Linked DNA regions of Homo sapiens: region 2 is linked to region 1. The links are contacts of gene promoters, found by promoter capture Hi-C in blood cells and fetal thymus (Javierre and others, 2016). All regions are on one chromosome and are shown on one strand. Each heading gives the region's core, a stretch centred on a gene start or on the middle of the fragment in contact. The rest is flanking DNA. Distances are from core to core; before and after follow the strand shown.

The links. The method cuts DNA at HindIII sites, captures the fragments that hold promoters and counts their contacts. A CHiCAGO score of 5 or more calls a contact.
Region 2: a fragment that was not itself captured here is called in contact with the fragment with the promoter of RXFP2 in region 1 in 1 of 17 cell types (M1 macrophages); the score reaches 5.6 in M1 macrophages.

The regions. Positions count from the first base shown.
Region 1 is chr13:31,735,350-31,741,764 of GRCh38, forward strand. RXFP2 (relaxin family peptide receptor 2) reads left to right here and starts at 4,177. Exons shown (of 18, transcript NM_130806.5): 1 at 4,177-4,357. The coding sequence starts at 4,264. The HindIII fragment of the contact is 9,597 bases long and covers 2,544-6,415 here.
Region 2 is chr13:31,219,186-31,224,808 of GRCh38, forward strand. B3GLCT (beta 3-glucosyltransferase) reads left to right here. Exons shown (of 15, transcript NM_194318.4): 3 at 3,767-3,806. Among named protein-coding and RNA genes, the nearest start is that of B3GLCT, 22 kb to the left of the region's middle. The HindIII fragment of the contact is 7,802 bases long and covers 1-5,623 here.

The sequences.
Region 1 (6,415 bases), core at 2,927-5,426:
TCTTGTATTTTATCAGTTCTAGAAAATTCTCAATAATTATCTCCTGAGATATTATCTCCTCTTCTTTCTCACTAGTTTCTCCTATGGGGACTATAATTAGCTGTATGTTGAAATTTTTCCTGCTTTCCTCCTAGTCTCTTCTTTCATTTTTTTTTTCATTCCCTGTTTATCTATGCTGCCTTCTGGGAAGTTTCTTCACTCCCTTACTTCCATTTACAACTTATTTTCTCAACTATGTTTTGACAGCTCTTTACCCTATCCACTGAGTTTTAAAATTTTAGGAACATATTTTTCATTTCTGAAAATTCTCTTTGTTGCTTTTTGATAGTTTCTTATTCCTTAATTATTCTTGTGATTGCAGTCTTTAAATATTTTACATTCCATAACTGATCATTTCGATATTTGAAGTACATGGGGTTCTAAATTTATTGCTTTGTTTCTGTCAACTTTTACCCATATGTCCTCGGTTGATCTTTGATAATGAGCTAATATTTAGTTGATTTTAACCTGGATAAAATCTAGGGGTTTCAATTAAGAATATTTTTCTTATACAGTGTGCATTTCTTTTGCAATGGTGCTACAGGACACCGCCTTTCATGTCTTTAGCCTGATCCTTCGTGGAAGCTTTGGCTTAGCTCTCAGATTTGGACACTGACTCAAGGCCTAAAAGTTGTAGTGCTGATATCTGCATTTTTTGCAAACGAATCTTGCCTTTTACATTTGTTCACTCTGCTCCATTGCCATTTCAGCATTTGGTTCTTATTTTTGTCATGTATTTTCCCTTTAGACTCGATTCCCCTCATTTTGAAGACTGCAGAAATGCAACAAAATTTTTTTATGCAGGAGCTGTTACAGTATTTTCAAGTAAGAAGTCTTTTCAGTGTATCTAATCTACCATACTGCCAGTAGTGGATGTCTCAGGGTTATTTTTTACTCTGGGTTCGTGGCTATGCTCCTAATAATTGAGCTTGCCAAGAGTTGAAATTCCCAGACAAATGGAGCATGACTTAAATTATTTAAAATTTAGAACATCAAAGTTAGAACACTTAAGCCCAGGCATGGCGGCTTATGTTTATAATCCCAACACTTTGGGAGGCTGAGGTGGGAGGACTGCTTGAGCCCAGGAGTTCAAGACCAGACTGGGCAACATAGGGAGACCCCACGTCTACAAAAAATGAAAATAAAAAATTAGTGGATGTGGTCACATACACCTGTGATCTCAGCTACTCAGGAGGCTGAGGTAGAAGGATTGTTTGGGCCTGGGAGGTTGAGGCTGCAGTGAGCAACGATAGCACCACTGCACAAGACCCTGTCTAAAAAAAGAAAAAAAAAGAAACCTTCATTTAGACTTTCTTGATCAAAATGGACCCTGTGCCAGAACTAGTTTGCTCAACTGATGGACACACTGTGTTGACTATGCTGATGAGATCATGTGATTGTTAGGTTTGCTGTGCCCACAGGGTGCAAATAAATCTTACTGAATAATGACAATGCTATAAACTCACACATAAAGGCTAATATATAGCTATAATCACAAATACTTAGCTAGTATGGCTGAATTCCTCAGATTTTACTATAACTTGATTTATGATAAGGAGGCTATTCAAGTGAGCATTGACATTATTGGCCTGCTATCATGAGCTTGGGATTCTGATGTTTATTATTCTATAATTTATCTTTTTGAGGACAGATATTATCTATTCATATAATTTGTTCTTTGAATATCACTATGTCTTGTTTTCCCCAAAACAGAAAGTGATACTAACTGCTAATGGATCAGGTTTTGTGAATAAGAGGCTATATAAAGTGAAAAGGCTATAGAAGTGAGAAATGTTTACAAGGCTATACTCTCATTAAGTAGAGTAAGTGTTTAGTAAATATCTTAATTGAAAACATTAATTTGGCAAGGTAATGAATTATAGCCTATATAAAAAACAATCACACAGTTATGAAAATGTGTTAAAATTAGGGTTTCTGACCATTTTTAAGTAAATTATGTTCTTGATTTAAGAATTTTATATTTAACAATGGTTTCCAAGATGTACACAAAAATTACAGTAGAAGCTAAGAAAATGTCTGTGCCCTCCCCCCATCACATAGAACTAGGTAATTAGTACTTTCAGTAAATAAATTCCCTTCAATTAGCCAGAATTATATTGAATTGTGCTATATAGTAAATAATATATTCACATGAGGTTTTATAGTATTACTGCTAAAAGTATGGGTCCTACCAACAGGTGACTGGAATGAAGGGATGAGCTGATTCAGGCAAGGATCAATAAAAAACACTTGCGCAGATTCGAAGTTACTATCGAGTGAGAATCAGTTTGCACAAGTCTTTCATCTCAGCTCTGCATGAAGCACTCCTTGGAACCTCCTTACCAACTGTGGCTTTAAGAATAGACTACATTCATTCACTCTTATTTAAACACATACATTATATCCCTGTGTACATGTCAATCATTTCAGTTTCGGTGCAAAAGGCTGGATATTCACACCAGATAAGTCAAAGTTAAAACATATTAAATGAAATGGTATTTCAAAGCTTGCATGCTCTACCTTTAAAAACCAGTGAGCCAAAGATGTTCCTATTATTTATAATTATTGATTTCTGAAAGTTTGTGTTAATACATTTCAAAGATTAACATTGAAAAGCCTAACAGAAAGGAATAACGATTCAACTTTTTGGCAATGTAAATCTATTGCTAGGGCTCGATATCATGAATAAATCTTAACTAATTTCTTTGACATCTTGACATTTCTTATTTCTCCAAAAATTACATTTTCATAGAAAATATATTTATACTTCAAATAGACTTATGATGGTATTTAATTGCACTTAAAAACTCATGCTCAAAATTTCAGTACCAGAAACTAGCATCCATCATCTCGACAGCAAAACACAAAACGTAAGAAAAACTAATCATTCCTTTAAGTGAAATAAGGCAATTTTTACCTAAAAAGACCTTGAGGTTAGTGAGGGAAAAAAAGATGCTTGAAATGTAAGAAAAGATCCTGAAGTATTTCTTTTCATCTTTATTCTCTCTGTTGCTTTTTCTTTTGATTTGAAAGATCAGATGAGACCACATATAAATATGTCTGGGAGGTGTCTTAGAGAACTTAACTCACTTCTTAAAAAGAGAAAAGAACTAAATACATTATGTGATAAATAAAGTATTTTTTATTGTACATTCTGTTTGAATCCTTGTTCTCTCAAAGGCTAGAATGAAAGAAAGAACAAGGAAAACCCCGTGTTTTATGATTTGTGACGATAATAGTCACCACAAGGTAGTTTTTTTCAGTGTTGTTAGGACACAGTTAACGACAACATATAAGAGAATCTGCATCGTTCAGTCACAAAATCTTCTCTTCAAATCAGAACTACAAACTGTATTCTAGATAGATATTTCCCTGTTAGTAAAATATAAACTCAGACATGGAAATTCTACATCTTTTTGGAGAAGTCTTAATGATTACACTAGGATCAACAGAATCCTACAACCAAAAGTCAATTTTTATACTTTTAACTTGTACTAACTATGCTGTTGAGAAAGCTGCTTTCAGGATGTAAGAACTAAATTATAATTAGTGTTTTCTAATAGGTGTGCAATACAGAGCTGGAAGCAAGAATAAAATTATTCACTTCAAGAAAAAGGAATATGATTATGCGGGAAGTATGTGAAGTGAAAATATTGTATGAATGTTTTACAGTAATTATTTAACACAATGCCATATATTTAAATTATCTTTTCATATGTCATTTGAAAACATTTAGGTACATTTGAATAGAAGTGGGTGTTCTTTGTGTATCTGTCAATAAGTAGTTTTTTACATTTGTTTATTGCATGAAAATATAATTGTAAAGGGTTTCATAGCCTATTCAGTGTAAGCCTATATCCTTCATATTTGAGAACTTCGATGTTTGGATTTAAACAGAGCAAATTGTACATGCTTTGGAGGAAAAAAATTTTTAAGTGATTAAAAAATATTTCTTATCAGATAATACCAAAGTCCTATTATACCTTCTTTTACACACCATAATGAATTAGTGATCAAGAACACAACTGTAGATTTAAACTAAAAGAAACAAAAAAGAAAGAACAAAAAAGACAGGCTGCATAGTGACAAGAATCCATCTCCCTTCATGCCAGTGAGGTTCTAGCTGTGAGCATGCTCAGAACATGGGAGGCACTGAACTTACTACATCAGAACTCCTGCTGAGGTATAAGAGGATACGTCTAATAACTCAATTGCTGTAAACCTATGATTGTTTTTCTGGTTTTTAAACATCTCTTCAGCCTCAGATTGATTACAATGTTCTTTCTACTTCATTTCATCGTTCTGATCAATGTCAAAGGTAAGGTTGCTACTTTCTCGTTTTAAATGAGTGCAATTCCCAAAAAATACATTTCTATGTAGTTCTATGGCAGTTGTAATAAATATATTGGGGTGTTTAAAAAAAAAACAGACATCAAATTTGCCTGGTATTTGTCATTATCTTTCATTGCTTGTAGTCCCACACAGCCTAGTAATTTTTAGATGCAACAAATTTTTCATGGAAACAAGCCTTTGTATGTTATTAAAGCTGTAGATAAAATATGTCAAAAAACAATGTTGACTATATCAATTAAAACATAGAAAACATTTTTGGCATTTGTTCTGAAAAGTGTGACAAATTAATAAACTAAAATTGTGTTTTGTGGAATTTCAACCTGTTGAAATATGCCCATAAAATTCAAGTAATTATTAGTAACTATCTTGCGTGAACATAATTAAACTGGGAACTCCAAAGCCACAGGCAGATCTAAAAAACAGTATCTGTCTCTAAGAGTAAACCTCTCTAAAATAAAGTTATTAAAAGTCTATACAAGTGCATTTACTTAGATAATTTTCTTTTGTTTTTAATTTGTGGAAATTTTTATTTCAGTCAAACTCTTAAGTTTCAAGTCAGTACCATTTTCATTGTAAAGCTCACCAAAAAATAAAACCTAAATCTTCACTTGTTTTTAAATAAAAAGATACGTTGTCAGCCTATACATTCATAAACAACCTATTAACCACACCCAAGATTTGCTGGGGTTTATTATTATTCAAAAATGTTTCTATTTTAATTTGTATTTTTTCTTAAAGAATTTTGATAAACCTCTGAGAATAAAGGTTAAAATTTGAAATTATTTTTATTTTCTGAGAAATTCGTTTTAGGTTTTTTAAATATTCAGTTTTATTAGGTGAATTCCAAGTGAATATTTTAAATCTTGAAATAAAATGCAATACTTATGAGGAATTATTTTAAAACTTCTAACAAACAAAAGATTTTTAAAAGGCTTAAAATATCTAAATTTTATTTTGAATTTAAAATAATACTAAAACTTTACTACAAATATTTAAAATCTATATCTCCATGCACCTAGCATGACTTTTATTTTATATTTTAATATCTCTTACATGAAAAGCTAAGGATTAACTAAGAAGAAACAATATATGAACTCACCTTGCATGCAGTACAGTTGCAACAAGCAGTCTATTTCTATATTTAAGGTCCTACTTCAGAAGTTCATGTTCTATCCACATTTGAATATTCAATTTTATACAATTTTAAGAATATACAGCTACAAAGCAGGTTCTTAAGACATGTCATAGAGCTCATCTGTGCCCTTAAAAAGTTCTTTAATGTACGGGACTATAACCACAGTTTAACCAATTTTACTATACTTTTGCTTTTATACATAATGCATTTAATTGATTTTGCTTAAACCGTTTATGAGATGAAAAACATCTATTACTAAAATAACATTTTGTGATTTACCATAATGTAAAGTCACCCTTTAAACTAAAAAAAAGTTCAATTAATAATTTTTGTTTGATTTTATTTCTAAGTAAAAGCCATATTTCAAACTCCTAGTACCAACCTAACAAATATTTATTGATTATAATCCTGGAAATTTTTATTTTCTAATTTTATATTACTTTTGACTACTAATTTAAACCTTTATGTTTAAAATGATTTCTTTTCAAAGCAAGACACATTAATCAATGCTTTGACATTTTATTCCTACTTATAAAAATAATAGAATTTGCTCTATAATTAGTAAAACTCTTTTCTTTTTCACAACAAAATTGTGGACAATTAAAACGGTAAGGCTTTTCATAGTAACCAAAGAAAGCTCATTTAGAGTTGCCTAAGAGTAAAGGTTGTCTTTTTAATTTAAATAATATTTGTGATAGACTCTTAGGCCAGATCTAAACAAAACATAAAATTAGAAATTATGTGATCGTCTTTTCTTCTCTGACCATCATCACTCTGGAGTGCCTAAGGAATGAGTGATTGCCTTAAGCTACAGGCACTAACAGACAACTATGCATAATGTATCTTATTATTATTACGTGTGTTTTATCATTAATTTATTCACTGTGT
Region 2 (5,623 bases), core at 2,254-4,753, 520 kb before region 1:
AAAAATCTTCAACAAAAACGCTAGCAAACCAAATTCAGCAGCACATCAAAAGCTAATCCACCACAGTTAAGTAGGCTTTATTCTTAGGAGGCAAGGTTGGTTCATCATAAGCAAATCAATAAATGCGATTCATCACCTAAACACGTGATTATTAAAAAGTAAAGTTAGAATCCAAATTTTCTGAATCATTGAATATTTCTCACTTTACTGTTTTATATTACACAGCCCTGTGCATTATGATGTGTGTATTTGGCAATAATGAGGATCATTTGTGACACATTTAAAGTGCTACCTAATCCTGTGGTAGCACTCAAAGTCCTTGTGACTTTGAGCTCTGAATGACAGGCATAAGGTTAACACTGGTCACGAGAACCAAAGTGTTGAAGTTCATCTCTTCTCCACCACTAGCCAGTTGTGGGGCTTAGTGAACCTCGCTGTGCTCAGCCTCCTCATCTGTAAGATGGGGTAGTAGGACCTACCTCACAGGGCTGTTTTGAAGATTAAGTGTGCCTGTTTATAGCTTAGAACAATGCCAGGTCCTGTTTAAACGTTTACCTGATAAGACAAGAACAATTCCTATAAGCAGCCTTTTAAGAGGTTGCATAAGCCATCTTTCCTACCTGAACAAATCAAAGTAAAGAGGAACTGCTTTTGTCTGTTACATTTGTTTTATGGAGGTAGTTGACTTCATATGAAGTAGTTGATGATAATGATGAAAAAAGGGTAGGTGCCAATATTATTGAGCATTTGCTTTGTGCAGACCCTGTGCTCAGCATTTTACTATCTTGTTCAACCTACAACACAATCCTGTGAAGTGGGTCTTGTCATTATTATTCCTATTCCAGTTGAAACAGGCCTGAGCTAGTTGGTGGTGCAGGCAGAATTAGAGCCCAGGGCCGACTGAGTGTAATCATGAACACATCTCATTATTTTATTCAGAATCTCTAGGGCAGTGGTGGGTACTTGTGACTGGGTGGAAGATTCCATTTTACTTCTCTTCCCTTTAAAAGATTCCATATAAAATTCTTTCGAGGGTGTCATATCTTCTTTTAATGAAGGACTTATGAACTAAGCATTACATGTATGGATTGCAAGTGTTGTTCAAATCTTTTGTGACTTAAAAAATAAAACCTGTGTCAAAGGGTGACTTTAATGTGCCTTTTCCTGGCTAGCATAGGAGCTTTCTGTGGGGTAGAGATTAATGGCAAATCTCTTTCGTATCTGAATAGCAATTCAGTTGACTTATAAAACCTTGACAGTGAGCACATTTTGATTGATATTGATAGCGTAAGAAACATCTGGTAGCAGAAATAATAAAACAAACCATGTGTTTCCTTCATTTTAGGAAGAACTAAGTCTTTTCACAAGGGAAGCTGGAGACAGAATTTTAATTGTTCTGTTAATTTAGTCTAATTTTCTTTCTCACAGGGGAAATTAGTCAAGACCATTTTGGTTCCATCTCAATTCACCTTATTCAACTGTTTCTTGCATATTTGATTTTTACAGTTTACAAATTGAACCCCTTGAAATGGCTAATCATTTCCTAGCTATTGTGTCAGTCAACAGAGCTGCTGTGTTTAATGGCAAAGAGAAAGATGTATCATTTTTGTTGCTATTCTTTGATTTCACAAAGATAGCTATCTGATGGAAAGTCCAGTTGGCTTTTCAGCTTCAGTTGCTTAGTCTAGAACTGTAGCATTCTGGATATTTTTCATCTTTTAACTTGTTGATGAAGGTGACTTTTGCTTTCTATATTATTTTTTAGCTCACTCTCAAAATCTATTCACATCTAATGATGTGTATTTTTTAAAGCATGCTTCCCGAGGAAGGCTGGGCAGGCGTTATCATGGCGGTGTGAGGAAGAGCATTGGGACCGAGTTAGGAGACCTGGTTTGTAATTCTGGTTCTGTGGCCAGAATGACTGCTGGACCTTGGGAAAATGATTTATCTTTTCTGAGCCTCTGTTATCTCATTTGCAAAAGGGGAGTGTTGGGTTGAATCATCTCCAATGCTGTTTTTAGATCTAACAATTCTATTTTTCCAGGAGCCTCAGCTGGCAGCCAAAGCTGTGGCATCCAGAAGGCAGCTTGGCCTGGGGCAAGTGGTGGGTTGCCAGTGGAGCCAAATGGCTCCTCTGGAGCTGAGGCTGGCCCCTTCCCTGAGGGCAGGTTGTCTTCCTGGTCAAGAGTGGCATTTAGAGTAAGTCTGCGCATGCTGACTTACGGTGATAACCTGGCTTTGGTTCAGTGCATTCAGGGAACTGGATTGAACTTTCCAGTCTTTTTTAGTAATTTCTTCCAGATCTACCTGTTTCATCAGGATTAAGTTAGGTGTCACTTGATCCATCGTGAGAGTTAACAAATCAGCATATAACTATAGGTTCTCCTCTACTCAGTGGCATTTCTAGTCTCGAGACAAAGATAATTTCAGAATATGCCACTAAAGGTAGTCCCTCCCCTGTGTTTAGCTCTCTCTTCCCCGAGTGTTGTCATGGTCCCTTTGGTATTCTTAGAGGATGCATCTCTGTGGATACGTCTCTTGGCTTTTAAGCCGCTCCCAATTTTGTTGGTAAGGGCTCACGACCACATTTCTTGTTGCAGTCTGTGAAGAAAATTGAAGGATATTTGCCACCATCCCGTTGTCATAATTATAGCATATGACTGTTGAAAGCAAGAAAGGGCAATTAGGGAGAAAATTCCTTCTTAGTCTGCAGAGAAGACAATGAAAATGGCACATTTAGCTGCTGACACTTTGCACTTTGCCAGATAAATCTTTTGAGAGTTCCTCCGTTGATTTACACAGAGTCGAGGTCAGGTATTTCTGTGCCCACATCCAGATTTCTGTGTCTGGAGCTCTCCAGCTCTTAAGGTGCCCCTTCTGTGCTCCTGATTTTTTTTTTTTTTTTTTTTTTGATATGGAGTCTTGCTCTGTTGCCCAGGCTGGAATGCAGTGACACGATCTCAGCTCACTGCAACCTCCGCCTCCTGGGTTCAAGCGATTGTCCTGCCTCAGCCTCCTGATTAGCTGGGACTACAGGCGCCTGCCATCATGCCCGGCTAACTTTTGTATTTTTAGTAGCGGTGGGGTTTTCCGTATTGGCCAGGCTGGTCTTGAACTCCTGACCTTGTGATCCACCTGCCTCGACCTCCCAAAGTGCTGGGGTTACAGGTATGAGCCACCGCACCCGGCCTCTGTGCTCCTGAATTCTGGTGACCACCATAGGCTGGCCTCTGAGGCCCTTTGCAGGCCCCTAGGACTACTCCTCAGGTTGGAGAGAACATTGTGGTAACATTCTTGAAGATAGCATGACTGCACCCAAAAGATGATAAAGTGCAATAATTAGTAGAACTTATCTTCATGAGGAGCACCCTGCCAGGTTCGAGACTATCCTCTGATATGTTCCTAATGCTTTATGGTTTACAGGGCTTTAAAAATGGACCCTCCTGAGAATATCATGAACCAGTTAAACATTCACTGCATCTTACACAATAGGAAAGAGCTTCAGCTCAATCAATTGACTTGCCCAAGATCACATGAGAAGGGCACAGCCCCAACTAAGAAGTCTGTCATGATACAGAAGTACATCATTGCTCCGTGGTCCCTTAGGTTTCGGTCTCATTTCTTTAGGGAAGCGTTTCCAAGCTCCGTTTTTCAAATCTTCCTCCCATGTGCTGATACATACCATGCACCATGCATGTTTACTCAGTGTACTGCTGGCTTTGTTATGTACTGAGATTCATCTTTTTCTCTTTCATTTAAAATACAGGATTTGGAGAAAAGTGGTATATCAAGGAAAAATGACATAGGTAAGTAATGATTTTTTTTACCTAAGAGTGTGTACTTAGGTATATTTTGTATGAATTATATTTCCATGAAGTGATTTTTTTCTGATTTTATTTATGGGGTAAATATTGTTGTTCAAATATTCTGTCTTTGGCCCAGCCTAACGTTTGCTCTCCTGAAGATGTGGGGCAAACACCTCTCAGATGGGCATGTTGGCATGTGGTGGATTTATGTTTACTTAGTGAGATATGTTGGATTTAATTCCCTCTGGCATCATTCATTGAGCTTCCAGTAAGGATAAAGCACCATGCCTGGTGGGCTCTCTGGGGGAATGCAGAGGGGAAGGAGACATGGTCCCTGTTATTAAGGACCCACATGATGTGGGAGAACAGAACAAGCTGTGACATTAGCGCAGGCCGTCCGGGAGCAGGCTGTCCACTTGCTGACCTGCAGACACCTCCATGCCTTTCAGGAGTCAGCTCACCAGTCACGTCTGCCAAACTTGTCCCGAGCATCCTGGCCTGGAAGCCGTTACTCCTTCCTTTGTAAGGCATCATACTTCTATCATTGCCCATTCCTTATTTGTACTCCTTTTGAAACACCCTCTCCGCCATAGTTTGTAAGTATCTTCAGAAATGTGACCAGGAGTTAGACTTTAAAAAAAAATTAATGGGAAGCATGCCCAGTGTGTAAGGCCACACCTCTGTGTGTAGGGGTGAGTTTGTCCTTGAAGGGTGTGAATTTTGTCAATGTCTTTCCTCCCAGGGTAGGAGGAATGACCCAAGTCTGGAACACAATCAGCCAGGACCTGGACACCAGTAGCAGTGGAACCTCACAGGAAGCCTATGGTGTCAGGGGGTATGCGGTCCATGGGAGAAGTCTCCCTTCAGACACAGGGGGTTGGCTCACCTCCAGTTTCATGATGGATAAGCCTGGGTTCCAGGAAACAAGAAGGGAACAATATGCTCTTCTTGCTTCCTCTCCACTATTTTCCATGGAGACCTGGAAGGCGAGCTCTAGATAAGAGGGAAAAGGATAAAGGAAAGTGTTCCTTTCTAGGCCTTCCCTTCCTGGGCCTGGGTTCTGAGGGGTGCAGAAGTTCAGGAGAGACCCCCGCCCCCGGGTGGAAGTGGGAGGATGACCTGTCTTGGGCACGCATATCTAGGGCCCACAGGGGAGTGTTTTGGGGTCTGCGAGCAGCTGTATTTAAGGAACCACGTCAATTTGTTGCTTTTTCTTTCTATTATAACACCCTGTATGGTTTAGCCACGCCTTTCCATGTGGAGATTTTCTTCCCTGCTACCAACTCTGTGGCTTTGAGCATTTATTTGTAGTTTATGGGAGCAGATGAGTCTCTGGTTATTAAATGAATTAATGATGCAAGTCTGGAACATGGGCTTGAAACTACAAAGGGGAAGTTACCTTGGACAAGTAAATTTATATTCTTGCAATTGCACATGGCAAGTCGAGTGATACCTAACTTGGTATCAGTTCATCTGAAAAAGACCCAGGGGACTTCTTTGTCACAATCTTTGTGTGAGCCTGCAAGACCAGGAGGCTACTAAAGATCCTGGGCAGTTGCAGTGACAACAGTAGATTCAGGGCACCGAGAGCATGGCTCACAGTCAGAGCTGGGAGATAGCCTCCATGCACGGGATGCTGTTTCTCCTTCAGCTTGCTGCCTAATTGATAGATTCACTAGTATATGATTATTCTCACCAAGTAAACATAATTGGAGTGGCCCGCTTTGTGTGTGTGTGTTTGTGGGTGTGTGTGTATGCATGCATATTTTTTCCTCAACTTTAAATCATAAGGCTGCTTGTTACAGCTTATATCAGAA